4 separate regions of the Homo sapiens genome follow, and all the other regions are linked to region 4. Evidence: promoter capture Hi-C in 16 types of primary human blood cells and fetal thymus (Javierre and others, 2016). All regions are on one chromosome and are shown on one strand. The core of a region is centred on a gene start or on the middle of the fragment in contact, and the rest is flanking DNA. Distances in the headings are between cores, read along the strand shown. Region 1 overlaps RUNX1 (RUNX family transcription factor 1). Region 2 overlaps LOC107985515 (a long non-coding RNA gene). Region 3 overlaps RUNX1 (RUNX family transcription factor 1). Region 4 holds the start of CBR1 (carbonyl reductase 1).

The links. The method cuts DNA at HindIII sites, captures the fragments that hold promoters and counts their contacts. A CHiCAGO score of 5 or more calls a contact.
Region 1: a contact is called between a fragment that was not itself captured here and the fragment with the promoter of CBR1 in region 4, in 1 of 17 cell types (neutrophils). The highest score is 8.9, in neutrophils.
Region 2: a fragment that was not itself captured here is called in contact with the fragment with the promoter of CBR1 in region 4 in 1 of 17 cell types (endothelial precursors); the score reaches 5.0 in endothelial precursors.
Region 3: a fragment that was not itself captured here is called in contact with the fragment with the promoter of CBR1 in region 4 in 1 of 17 cell types (neutrophils); the score reaches 7.2 in neutrophils.

Annotation. Positions count from the first base shown.
Region 1 is chr21:34,881,061-34,884,125 of GRCh38, reverse strand. All of the region lies in intron 4 of RUNX1 (RUNX family transcription factor 1), which reads left to right. It overlaps RUNX1-AS1 (RUNX1 antisense RNA 1), which reads right to left. Exons shown (of 2, transcript NR_186614.1): 2 at 1-643. Among named protein-coding and RNA genes, the nearest start is that of RUNX1-AS1, 46 kb to the right of the region's middle. RefSeq lists a silencer at 1,154-1,203. The HindIII fragment of the contact is 5,547 bases long and covers 1-3,065 here.
Region 2 is chr21:34,736,658-34,740,047 of GRCh38, reverse strand. It overlaps LOC107985515 (a long non-coding RNA gene), which reads right to left. Exons shown (of 3, transcript XR_001755016.1): 2 at 2,561-2,622. LINC00160 (long intergenic non-protein coding RNA 160) reads left to right here and starts at 2,866. Exons shown (of 6, transcript NR_024351.2): 1 at 2,866-2,938. The HindIII fragment of the contact is 1,585 bases long and covers 727-2,311 here.
Region 3 is chr21:35,019,184-35,022,656 of GRCh38, reverse strand. All of the region lies in intron 2 of RUNX1 (RUNX family transcription factor 1), which reads left to right. Among named protein-coding and RNA genes, the nearest start is that of RUNX1-IT1, 19 kb to the left of the region's middle. The HindIII fragment of the contact is 7,607 bases long and covers 1-3,473 here.
Region 4 is chr21:36,068,240-36,071,491 of GRCh38, reverse strand. CBR1 (carbonyl reductase 1) reads right to left here and starts at 1,468. Exons shown (of 3, transcript NM_001757.4): 1 at 1,088-1,468; 2 at 435-542. The coding sequence starts at 1,376. It overlaps CBR1-AS1 (CBR1 antisense RNA 1), which reads left to right. Exons shown (of 4, transcript NR_040084.1): 4 at 1,007-1,850. RefSeq lists an enhancer at 1,163-1,412. The HindIII fragment of the contact is 9,155 bases long and covers 1-3,252 here.

The DNA.
Region 1 (3,065 bases), core at 39-2,538, 1.2 Mb after region 4:
TACTTACAGAATTAGCCTAAAAAGCTGTTTTGATGACTTAGGATGTATTTGGTAATACCATGGTGTTATAGCTTGTTCAGGCCCTGGTACACCAGAGTCCAAAGACGTAAACGTGCCTTCAGCAGGGAAGTTCGGAGGTCTTGGATTCTGATGGTAATATTCTTTTCATAAAAAGGAAATAAGTAATATTTTTGTCGGCAAGATCACAGTCCCTAGCTATGCCTTAAATATCATCTCAGCTGAATTCTGTGTTCCACTCCACAGCCTTCTTTGCAACACTGGAAGGTTAACGGATTTGAAGTAAATGAATTGTAACTGTAATTTCAACCTAATTAGAATTGGTTTAAAATGCCAGTTTGGACCGTGAACAGGCTAGCCAAGAACAGTATTGGGAGGTCCATGTAATATAGAAGAGAGTTGATATTTGGCCCAACTTCCTGATACTTTAAAAACAGAGAAGTAAAACAAAATATGAGATATCTTTGGCCAGCAAGTCCCTTCTTGCCTGTTTGGTCTGTGTTAAAATGTAAATGTTTGTGTTTCCTTACCTATTGTTTATAGCTTTTCATTCCAGTTGTTTCTTTTTTCTGTTTGAAGTTAGATATTTTTACATTCTCTCCATATTGCCCATCAGTGACAAAACCTGTATCAAATTAGCACGCATGTTAGTTTTGAATTAAAAAGAAACTTTTTAAACCTGGCTTAAGTATGCTTGTTAACAATTGGACGATATACAGTATTAATGAATTGCCCTGGATTTACTAGTTCCCCTTTACCCACCCGCCTCCACCAAAAAAAAACCCTCAGAGATCAATACAAGGCCAAGTGAATGATATGTAGGTGCCCAAATATGGTTGATTCTGCTGCATTTAAAAAAAAAGAGGAGTGGGAGTTAAACTTCTAATTTTTTTCTTCTTAAGTTCCAACATCAACAGCCTTTTCTTATTTAGCCTCCATGATAATTTTATTCTATGTTTGTTTCGACTTGGCGAAGGTCTCCTGAATTTGCCAAATTACCAATGAGGATAGTATTGGAAAGATGAGAGAGGCACAGGCTTGGAGCACTGTGAGGGGAACAGCAGTAGGAGGCAGATAATTCAGAATACATTCCTGTAGTTATAAAAGAAGATTTATTTATTTTCACCTTTTTACAGATCCAGACCCAACAATGAGTTATTCAGTTTGAAACCCACGTAGTGGAGGCAGTCTCTGTATACCTGCTGAATGTTGAGTTACAATAGAGAAGCCTGGGTTACCACAGGGAGAGGAGGATGAGGAAGTAAAAATATGTGTTCAAAGAGGGCATTTCAACACTGTGAGCTAACTTTACAACGGGAAGTGAAAATCATGAAAAAAAGGGGAAAATTTGTTGTGAGAGACTAAAAAGAGCAAAATAAAGCAAGCCCATTTTTCGGGAATAGAAAAAAAAAAAAAACAGTAGCAATAACCAAATAACTGATCAGGGAGATTTATTTCCGTGATATCTTTTTAAAACAAAAAGGGAATTGTCGTATCACTGCTCTTAATTAAATGGCAACAAACACACTTATAATGGGAACTAAATAGCTAATTAGAGGGTGCTTGGGGAATAAATAGCAGAGTTTTAAAATCTCCTATATGGAAAACATGTCCAACAATTGGAATGAAAGGATTAAAAAGAGAGAAAAGGCCCAGACCTTGTTTGGCAGTGCAAGTTGGATAAAATAGAGGAAAATGCCTCCCTGCTTCTATGAGACTAGATTATCCTGGTGTAGTCTTGGGGTTGGAAGTATGTTCATCTCTCATAGTGAGTTAGTTCGTGTTCTGTGCCACAAGGACTGAAGCAGTTCTAATGAATAAAAACAATAGATAGTCATCTGGAGGCCACAGGGAAAGGGTGATGGCTAAGCAGATCATGAAAATGGGAATCTTGAGAAACATGACTTCGATATCATACAAGTGAGTCTATGGCAGCCTTTTTTACATATAGAAAAAGAGGCCTGAAAATATATACTACAAAAAATTATGTAGCAGTTATTAAGGTAAAAATTGGGAAGTAGGAGGCAGAGGAAGGAGTGATAACACTAGATTAAGGAATGCTTTACTGTTACCAATTCAAAAACAGCAACCAAAAATGATGATGTAATTGGAATGAGTAATATAAATGTCACTACTGACTTTACCGTAAAGAATGTCAGAAATGATCAGAATAAATACAGCTTGGGGCATTTCGATTTGAAGTTGTATGACTGCTTTGAAAAATAGAAACAAAGGAAATACAGCCAATAGTAAATGTCTAGACCAAGAAAATAGTTTCTAGAAGGCCTAAATGATAGCCAAGAAATTGATGCTATTGTACAAAGTATCTTTAGGTCATGCTTTTCAGAGTATTTTACTTTGGAATTCATTTTCTTAATTACCTGAGTATAAAAACATTTATCTACCAGTTTTCTCCAATAGCCCTGATAAGACTTCATACTTACTCAGTTACATTAAATAAATTCCTGGTCAAGATCAGCTGGGCTAGCAGAAAACCTCAGGCATCTGTGAGGACATGAGTTTACACACGCTGAGACTCACAGATACAAAAATGCAACCCAATTCCACCCCTGAATTGAGGGGAGTGCATAGAAGTGAATGTCCCGTCTTTCTGAGGTCTGTTGATTTTGTAATTAGTAAACGAAGGGTGCATTTCTGATTTTTTTTTCTTGTGTGCTAGAATTCATTGCTAGTAAAACTCAAGATAATAGCGATGAGTAGGAGGTATCAAAGATGAACTGTAGAGGGACAGTTTAAGTTACTTAAGAATCGTCAGCAAGATGAAATCTACTTTTAGCAGAAATTGGGTTTTTTTGTGTTTTTTTGTTTTGTTTTATTTTCTAAAAGTAAAGTCTGCACCTTGTTCAGCCTGTTAGTGGAGGTCTGAGCAAGTAAAAGATGGGTTGGATTATAAACTTACAAACACAGGATGTTCTGTTTCTCAAACGGGAGAAATTAAGAAGAGATGCTTGTATTCAGGAGACGGCATAGCTACTCAAAATCCTTGATATCTTGCTATGGTTAGTCTTGTTCCAACTGTGCTATGT
Region 2 (3,390 bases), core at 270-2,769, 1.3 Mb after region 4:
GACCCAGGGCTGATTTATGGGGCAAAAGAAGTAAGTGTCAAAGTATCTGTCACCACTTAGCACCAAGGAGGTAAGATTCCTTAAAAAAAAAAAATCAGATAGAGCAAAAGAGTACTGTCTTCTGAGACCGCAAAGAGGCTGATGGCACTTCTATTCATGCACCCAAAGGTTCTAGGGCCTGAAGTGGCCCCCCACCCTCTCTAGCCCCCCTGTGAAGAAAGATGCTGGTTTGGGGCAGCACAACACCTGCAGAGATGCTAACGCTGTTCTCCTGCCCTCACATAAAAAATGCCAGTCCCAGTCAACAAGGAAAGATCCTGACACTTTTATCAGCATTAGAAGCAGTTCCCCAAAGGTTGATGCTCAGTGAAGCCCCAGGATCCATGATCTCAGAGGTACTTACAGAAATTTTCACCAAGTGGAGCAAACATAATTTTAAAATAAATAAATAACATGTCATTATACCCTAAAATGATTTCTAGGTAATCCTTAAACACAGCCTTTAAACTATATATTTAGCAAAAAGGAGATGGAACTAAAATGGTTTGAGTGCTGTGTAGTTTGGGTCTTCCAGAAACAGATACCAAGATGGGATTAGACACCTGAGGGATTTCTTGGGAGACACGGTCTGGAAGGGGCCAAGAAGGTGGGAGAACCCTCAAGCTATGGTGCAGGTCTGGCCCTGTGAAGGTCAGAGGGAAGGAGGAGGAGGAAAGGAAGGAAGCTTGTCTAGACACTGCAGCACAGCTCCAAGAAAGTTCTAGCAAGGCTCAGGGAGAGTCCTTGAGCCACAACTGTCTGTCAGAGAAATCCCACATCTCTCTGGAATGGGCCTGTCTTCGCATCCCTGTAGGGCCCAGTCACCACCTGGGAGCAGCTGTGGTAAGTGTGACCTCCAAGCAAACCCACTAGTGGATCCAAAGGACCAGTAGATGGGCTCATCCTCCACCCGGGAAGCACACTTTCACAGCTGCCATGAGTACTCTGTATGGGGCCAGAGACTTCCTAAATGTCTCCTTCAATCCTCACCTATTGCTGTTGCACATTGGTATTACTAGCCCATTTTGCAGATGAAGAAACTACATTTCAGAAAAGTTAAAGTACTCAGGGATTGTAAATGACCAAGCCAGGACTTAACTCTCTATAACTGGCTCCCAAGGCCCTGCTCATCACATCCCAGTCTCCCTGGTCACCAGAGCCCTGTACTGAGAAGAGGAGTCTGGGGTTAGCTTTTGAGAGATGGCAGAGTGAGGTCAGAGTGTTGAATGTAGGGAGCAAGAAGCAGAGGAAATGAAGAGAAATGCTCTCTGGGTTAGAGGATGGAGGTGACACATTGACCAGCAGATGCGGGCAGCTCAAGCATCCCCACCTCACAGCCGTCTTGGGTGAAGCCTCTTGCCCTCTCCTGATTCAATACTTAAATAAGGACCATCCAGGCATCGTGAGAACCATGGCAGGGAGAGGTGCTCATATGTGGTTCCTGGGATGAGAAGGAACGCAAGCTCTAAATCTGTGCTGTTTGCAAACTAGAGAAGGCGGCTGGCCTTCTGAGGATAGCCTTTTTCCTGGGCTACAGCCTGCCCGAGGGCCAAATTTCCTTCCCTGGTCTTGCAATGATGGATGGAAGGACACTGTGCACTCAGTTGTCCCTCCATGATGATCAGATGGTAAACACGGCTGCTGAGCAGTGTGGTCTTGCTCTCCCTGCTCTCACCAGCCTATGCTCGCAAAGGCAGAGAATTGCTCTTTAGATTTAGGGGAAGTGGGAAAGGCAGGAAGAAGGAAGAGCTGTTCGCTTCCTCCATCCATGCAGAGAGAGATGTTCACATGGAGGCCATGACATCAAATTGTGAATGCCACACATTTTCAGGGGATTAATTGACCTCAATTTAGGAGCAATAAGATTCTTCAGACTGAAGCAACTTGAAAGGCACTTTTACAGGTACCTGTAGAAATTTTTAATGGAACAATCAATGAGCTGTGATTCTTGCCACATTTGCTGTCACACTGCCTCCAAGGATTAAACCTTGGGGTGACCAGCCACCCCCGCAACTCTAATGAGATGGGAAAGAGCCAAAAAAGAGACCTTTCAACCCAAGCCCTGCTCTGCATCACAGGCAGCTTTTATCTCCATAATTAGAGGGCTCGTCATGCTTTTAAATAAACTACTGGAGCCCAGGCTGGGCACTCAGAGGGGAGCTGACTGTGGGGAGTCAACAGTGGGGAGTGTGGAGGAGTGGGATCTCACAGCCTGTCCCTGGGACGGTGGGAAGTGAGGTATCCTGGGAAACAGAGGCCTTCCACAGAAGCTTCTTTCCAGATAGGGAAAGGTGTGTGGACTTCGGCAAGTCACTGATTTTGTGGACATTACGGGAAATTACTGCATTTTTCATTTATCCTTAAATGTAAACAAGTAACATGGAGGTTCCAGATGCATTTTTTTTTTCCTTTTAGGAGACAAAACCAGAACTCTTTAAATCCTCTTTCTTAAACATAGGAATAGATATTCAAATTCGATTACACTGAGATTGGGAGAAAAATGCAGAGTTGGGTAACTCACTCTTTGGTGGAGGCTGTGGGACTCTTGTGTACCGCCAGTGAGCATGTGAATTGGCACAACCCCTGCAGAAAGAAACAGAGTGATCATTAACAAAACTACAAATCCACATGCCCTCTGACCCAGTCATTCATCTTCTGGGAATTTGTGCTGCCGAGACACTTTTAAGATGACATGTGTGTGAGATAATTCATGGCAGCTTTGCTGGTGATGGCAAATACTTGGAAACAAACCTAGATGTCCATCAAGAAAGGATTAGTTAAATAAAGCATGCTAGATTCAAACAACTACTATGCGGCTTTAAAAAGGAATGAGGAAGCTCTCTGTGTACTGATGGGGACAGAAGTTCCAGGACATTTTGTAAGGTGGCTGAAAAACAAGGTACAGAATATTGTGTATAGGATGTTACCTTTCATGTAATAAAAGGGGGAGATAAGAGTGTGTGTCATATTTGTTTGTATTGGGATACACATATTCTAGAATACATATGCCTCCACAAACAAAGAAGTCATCTGTGGGAAGGGAGCCCAGGCCGATGGGGGAGAAGTAAAAGAAAGGAAACCCTTTTAGACTTTTAGATTTTGAAGCAATGTGAATGTCTAGCATGTTGAAAATTTTCAATGAACAAACTGATCTGCCTTAGATGAAAATATCCAGAATAGGCAAATCTCTAAAGACAAAATGCAGATGAGTGGTTGCCAGAGTCCAGGAGGAGGGAGGAATGGAGAGGGACTGTTTATTGGGTACAGAGTTTCCTTTAGGGGTGATGAAAATGTTGTGGAAGTAGGCAGTGGTGAAGGTTGCACAACATTGTGCATGGACTAAATGTCAAT
Region 3 (3,473 bases), core at 267-2,766, 1.0 Mb after region 4:
TCCCAAAGTGCTGGGATTACAGGCCTGAGCTACAGCGCCCAGCCTCTGCCTTATTATTTTATTGCAGTTTACAAAGATCTATATGCACTTGTTTCTTATCTCTAAATGGTGGAAATGCTCTAACATAGAGTGTTGCTGTGAGAGGAACTATAGTGATCAGCAGTGATTGCTGAAATCTGCACATGTTATAAGTCAAAGCTGTTTATCCTGAAGAGCTGGTTGTTAAATGTTCCCCAGCTCCTGCTGGTTTAGGGATAGGAGATTACTGATACCAGACACCCTTCAGGCACTCCTGCGGGGCGCAGGCTAGAAAACCAGCGGACTCCATCAAGAGTAAGACCGAGAAGGAACCTCTCTTTACCACCCAGCCTATCTCTCAACATGCCCTTGCCTGCACACACCTGGTGCAGACGCTTCCACCCTCTTTCGTCTGTTCAAAGGTAAGCCACATTCCTTTGCCCGGTGCTGCTGGTAAACCACGGAACCGCCAATCAGCTCCTTCAAGACTATTGTCTACACCCGCTCTCAGCTACATGTTAGCCCGTGTTCAGTCTGGAGGGGACAATGATCCCCAGCAAACTGCTTCTGAAGCTGGAGTTGACTGTTTCACAATATAAACACATGTATTTCACATTGATATGTGTCTTGGGGATCATTCTCGCCTGCTCCTGGAGTTCTTGCCAGCCTCTTAAATGGGAACTCCTACCCTTTTGGAAGCATTGAGAGAAGAGCTCTGAGCTTCTATCTGCCTCTGCCTTCTTCCGCCTTATGAGAGGAGAGGCACATCCAATGGGAGAGATTGAGAGAGGCCTTCTGGGGACAGCCTGCCTGATATGGTGCATTCTCCTCTGCCTCTGTCTCCCTGGATGAGGCCTGAGGCAGGGCCCGCTCCCACCCCAGCTATGTCCTGATCTCAGGGCTCAGCAGAGATGAGGTCAGCGCAGGCCCCTGTGGCTGGCTGGGTAGGTCCCTGCAGGTACTTCTCATGCTCTGGAAGAAACCCCAGATGGGCTCTTTCTCCAACTCAACTCTACAAGCAAAATGCTGGTATTTACTTCTTCATTTGATTTCAGGGGTTTATTTCTCAGTTGCTTCAGAGCTTGACATGGGGAAGATAGTAATGTTTAGCTCAGTGTATTTATATATTATGTGTATGTGCACACGCATAGTGCTCATAGTGTATTTAAGTGACTATGTTTGGAGCTTCTATCATTATTGCTTATTCCACAAATAGCACACAGAAACATTTTCCCTGATAGAGAAAAAAATCAGCACCTAGAAAGTTAAGACCATTTATTTAGTTAGTTCATAAACACTTAGACAGTGCTCGCTCGCTATGTGCCAGGAATTGTTCTAGGTGCTTTGCAGATAATAACTCATGTAATCCTCAGAACAATCTTTACATAGTAGATACAGCTATTCACCCCATTTTGCGGATGGGAAACTGAGAAACAGATTGGTGTGCAGGGTTACAGGGCCTGACTCAGACTGACTCAGACTTTCTGGCTCCATGGTTCAATTTTACTTTGCCAGTCATGGGGAATGAGCATACTCCAAAACCTAGGGACAGAGTATCCCTGGTGGACACTGCCAAGATGGAATTTTCTCTTGAGAAAAGACTAAAGCTAAACATGTTATTGTCTCCCCAAAGTCATTACCCAAGTGCCTCAGCCAGCCAGCCTGAAGGTAAGTGGAGATGATGGGAAGCCCCAGATTCTTTGTGGGGACCTCATTCCCCTTCTCAAAGCTACTGACAAGGACTTAGGTCAGAACGTTCCATAAGTCCCCATAGAAGCAAAGTGTACTTTTAAAGGTTGTAAATACATTTTATAAATGAGACACTATTTAAAGGCATTAAACAAGCAACAGACTTCATTTATTTAGTTATTTGGGGGTTTTCTAATCAAGATTCTCACTTGCACATCAGCCTAGACCACAGAGAATCAGTCCTGGCTTAAATCTAAAACTGAGATGGATGATGGGGCAAGAGGAGGAAGTCGATGCAGCAGCCAGGTGACGTTGGCAGCTTCCTCTTCCCCATCCTCGAGGGGACAGTGACTAAGAGAGTACCTGGACCAATGTTTGTGGGTGCTCATGGAAATTCCTTTGCATAAGCCAAACTCTTTCGGGTCTCATTGCCTTCTACTTTATCCTCCCAGATCTCACCTCTGCTTGCTTTGCCTTCTCAATAAAAAGCCTTAGGAACATCCCCAAAGGCCTCAGACATTAGAACTAATTACATCTGTCTTCAGGAGCCACTTTCTCCATGAGGGTGATCAAACCCAAACACAGAAGCACTGTGTTTTCTACCCGTGGGTCACAGCAGCCCAGGATTCATCTCTGCTCCATTAAAAGCATGATGCTATGATGAAAAATGCTCAAGGGATCATTCTTTTGTTTATTACCAGGTCCTCTGGAAAGTAAGGTCGGGGAGGAACTAATGAAAACTTTCTATAGAGAAGGGGAACAGTTGTGCTATTTTGGTTAAAAAAAAAATCTAATTGCAACTCTTAAAGATTTAGAAAATAATACTTTTTCAGTTTTTTTATTGCTATATATACAGTATTAAATCATTTTGACTTGTTTTGCTGTTTTCCATATTTGAAATATCTGGAATTGGGAAACCCTAAGACCCAAGATGAATCCTGGTCCGCCTAAGACTATGTAAACAGCCCATTATCTGCTTCCCCGATACCAAGTTTGTCATGAAATTGACAGCTTCCTGATAAGGGCTTTCTATTTCTATAACCAAGCAGCCCTTCGCTAGAATCTTCTGGGGTCAGGAGAAAGTTGAAGCCGCGTGCACTGATCAGTGCACGATTTTCCCAGTGAGTAGCTGTGTGCAAAGGGCAATGCTAATTGTCCCCTTGTTCTGGCGATGGACTTGGCTTCGGCAGGTTTGGGTTTATGATTAACTAGGCAGAAGGCTGATTGTGGTTGTCGATCCCTTCCCTGGAAGGTTGTTTGCATAGGTCTTATTCAGCTTTCTGGGGGGTGTGGGTGTGATCCTGTGTGAGGTGCAGAGGCTCAAGGGCTCAAGGAGGTTTGCCACATTTTCTTGCTGTGATTCCAGAATGCTTTGTCCGAATATAGATAATCATTGAATTATTTTAATTTTTTCAGCATTAGCATTTTCTATGAGGTTGTTGCTAACTTGCTCAGTGCACTGGCAGTATTATGCCAGGCCTCTTACAGACATAAAAGAAAGCTATGTATCTTTGTCTCCCAGCAGTTTGAGGACAGAAGACATATACCTGTGGAATAGGTGGGGAGAATCTTAAACTGCACAGGACTAAGCAGGGCATGCAGTAATACCATAGCCATTCAGACGACTGGAAGGCTAGAAGGTGTCTCGAGCCATTACAGAGGACTCAGGTCAACTTAGGATTTTGCTGTTAAAGGAGAACAGGGAAAGGTATCCAGGAGAAGAAAGCAGCACCTGCAAGGCAGGAAGTGCCAGGTGTGGTTGAGGA
Region 4 (3,252 bases), core at 219-2,718:
GCTTAAGGAGTGTTTCAGACAGGTGACAGGTATTAGAAGGGCCTAATGAACTGGTGGTAGTAAAGCCTCCACCAGCCTGAATAAGATCTCTCTGAAAGAGCAGAGAAAGGGTACAGGATGGACTCCCACGCAGAGGGGAATGGAGCAAATAAAGAGCATCTCTCAGGAGACGTTTGAGCTAAGACCTGAAGGATGAGAGTCAGCCAGGTGTGCAAAGACCAGTGCGACAGGGAGGACGAATGGCCATGGGAGTGGGAGAAGTGAGGACAAAGTCCTGAGGCAAAATGGCACATATCAGCTGGCAGGAGAAAAAGCACAGAGGTCAGTGCACGTGCAGCATGGAGAGGAAGCAGGAGCCTGCAGGAGAAATCCCAGGCAAGCAGGGGCCAAATCAAGCCCCAAAGAGAAGGTGCGCTGTTTCCCATCAGACTCACCTTGGGGTTTTATTAGAGGGAGTAATTCTGTGCACACATCTCGGGTACCAAAGAAATTTGTTTTCATCGTCACTTCAGCTTGAATATGAAAGGGTGTGGGATCAGCAACTTTTAGGAGAGAAAGAGAACATAGTTAATACATTGTACCCATGGGGTAAAATTCTATACAATGATACTAAAAAAAAAAAAAAAAAAAAAAAAAAACTTAGTGCCCTCTGCCTAAAGTAAGTCTGTATCTGGTTACAGTATTGTGCCAATGTCAATCTCCTGGTTTGATCATGTTCTAGTATTTTTGTAAGATGGCACCATTGGGGGAAGGAGGATGAAGGGTGCACACACTGGATCTTGGCATAACCATTTTTTCTTTTTGCAATTTGTCGTTTATTTTAAAATCAGTTCAAAATCCATCCAGTTGCCTTAAAGCTCAATTCAGAAAAACTGCAGAAAACCTGAAAAAGATCCCCAAGAGTCCCAGCCAGGGAAACACAAAGTTCCCTTTGGCTGGAAAACTCTCACTTTCTCCAAGGTTTCTGCACTCCCTGCATCTCCTAGCTCCTCCCTCTCCTCCCTAGGGAGGCGTTATGGACCCCGCAGACGCCAGGAGCCCCAGTGCATCGGTTCTTCTTCGGGGAGGCCACGTCCCCTCCCCATACCCTTGAAGGCGATGCCCGCGTTGTTGACCAGCACGTCCAGGCCCCCGTACTCCTTGCGCAGGAAGTCGCGCAGGGCGCGGATGCTCTGCAGATCGTCGATGTCCAGCTGGTGGAAGCGCGGGCTCAGGCCCTCCGCCTGCAGCTGCTGTACGGCCGCCTGGCCCCGCGTCACGTCCCGCGCCGTGAGCACCACGTCCCCCGAGAACAGCCGGCACAGGTCGCGCACGATGGCCAAGCCGATGCCCTTGTTGCCTCCAGTCACCAGCGCTACATGGATGCCGGACGACATGGCTGAACGGGGCGCGCGGAACACCTGCGTGGAGAACAGACCTGGCTCAGGCCCGGGAGCCCCGCAGCGTGTTCCAGAGACTGCTCGAGTCTGGCGGTCGTGGGCGCGCACCCGTGGGTTACACGCCCGGCCGCTGAGCGCGCAGGCGCAGGCCCCGCCCTAGCGGGGCGGGGCTGAACCATCCCTACCCCTCCCCACCGGAACCTCGCCGGGGTGCGGAGCAGGCGGAGAGCCAGCTAGCCTGACTTTGCAGAACCCGCAGGCCGAAGACCGAGGCTGGTCTCTAGCTACTGGCTGTTGGCTGCCCACGTGGCAGTGAAGAACCATTCCTAGTGGCCATGTGCCTAGATCTGAACTCACTGCTTGCCCTTGGTTCTCTGAGGGGTTTTCTTCATATTCTCCCAGCTGTTCAATCATTCCTAGTTGTGTTTGAAGAAATAGTACATTTGCATGGTTTTTTTTTCTTTTTTTCCTGGTGTTCTAAAAAAAAAAATACTGCAGGAACTGCAGTCTTTGGAGCTAGAGTTGCAGAAGAAACTGGAAGGAAATAACAGGGCATCAAGTTTTTGTTGATTTTCCCCCTAAGTATATGAAAACAAAGCTACTGACTTAGCCAGATTTTCCAATAATGGTGGGAAACATTCACTAAATCTTTATAAGGTTACTTCTCTGGGCATTTGCAGGGCCATCAGTTTATCTGTGCATAGGTGTAGGGGGTTTCACAGCCCTATTTTACACGGACAATAACACTCTAGGATGTACCTTTTAATCCCCATCTTAAAATGAAGAAACAGGGATCCATCCTCAGAATTTATAACTTAGTTCAGTGGTGGGAAATTGTTAGAGAAATGCCAGGAGTTTGGTCTAGGTCTGGTGGTTCACAGCACAGAAAGCCAGTCACTGAGACCCCATTATTGTCAGGGAAGAAGGCATTATTTGGGTGCTACAGCCTAGGGGGGAGAGATCAGTCTCAAATCCATCTTCTCAACTGATTAAAATTAGGATATAGCAGGGAAGAAATGTAACTGCATGTGGGAAAATAGCAGGAGTTAGGGAGAGATGAAGAGGAGTGGGTCAACAGGCATCAGGCAATTGTTGCAGGTGAGGGGTCTGGTGTCTGATTTTCCAGATGTGGTGATCCGATAAGTTTCAGTTCCTTGGTGCTATCTGGGAGGACTGATGGCTAGTTCCCTGAGAAAGGAACTCAGATAAGACAAATGTAAATTTCTCAAGTTTTTAGACTGGGAGGGTCAATTTGTTTATTCAAAAGAGACCAGGCCTGGCGCGGTGGCTCACGCCTGTAATCTCAGCACTTTGGGAGGCTGAGGTGGGTGGATCATGAGGTCAGGAGTTCAAGACCAGCCTGGCCAAGATGGTGAAACCCCATCTCTACTAAAAAAAAAAAAAAAAAAAAAAAATACAAAAATTAGCTGGGTGTGGTGGCAGGCGCCTGTAATCCCAGCTACTTGGGAGGCTGAAGCAGAGAATTGCTTGCTTGAACCCCAGAGGCGGAGGTTGCAGCGAGCCGAGATCATGCCACTGCACTCCAGCCTGGGCAACAGAGTGACTCCCTCTCAAAAAAAAAAAAAAGGAAAAAAAAAGAGACCATAAACATCTGTCCTATGGGACAATTGCATGGTTTCAAAGTGAGTGTTCCTCCTTCCTACTTACAAGGGAATTGGGAATAAGGTCAAGTTTCATTTCTGTGCTGTCCCATAGGTTGCCACTATCACAGGTGGCCATTTAAACATAAATTCAAATTAAGCAAAATTTGTAATTCAGTTTTTTAGTTGCACTAGCCACATCTCCAGTGCTCAATATGTGCATGTGTTAGTGGTCACTGTATTGGGCAGTACAGATTTAGGATATTTCCATC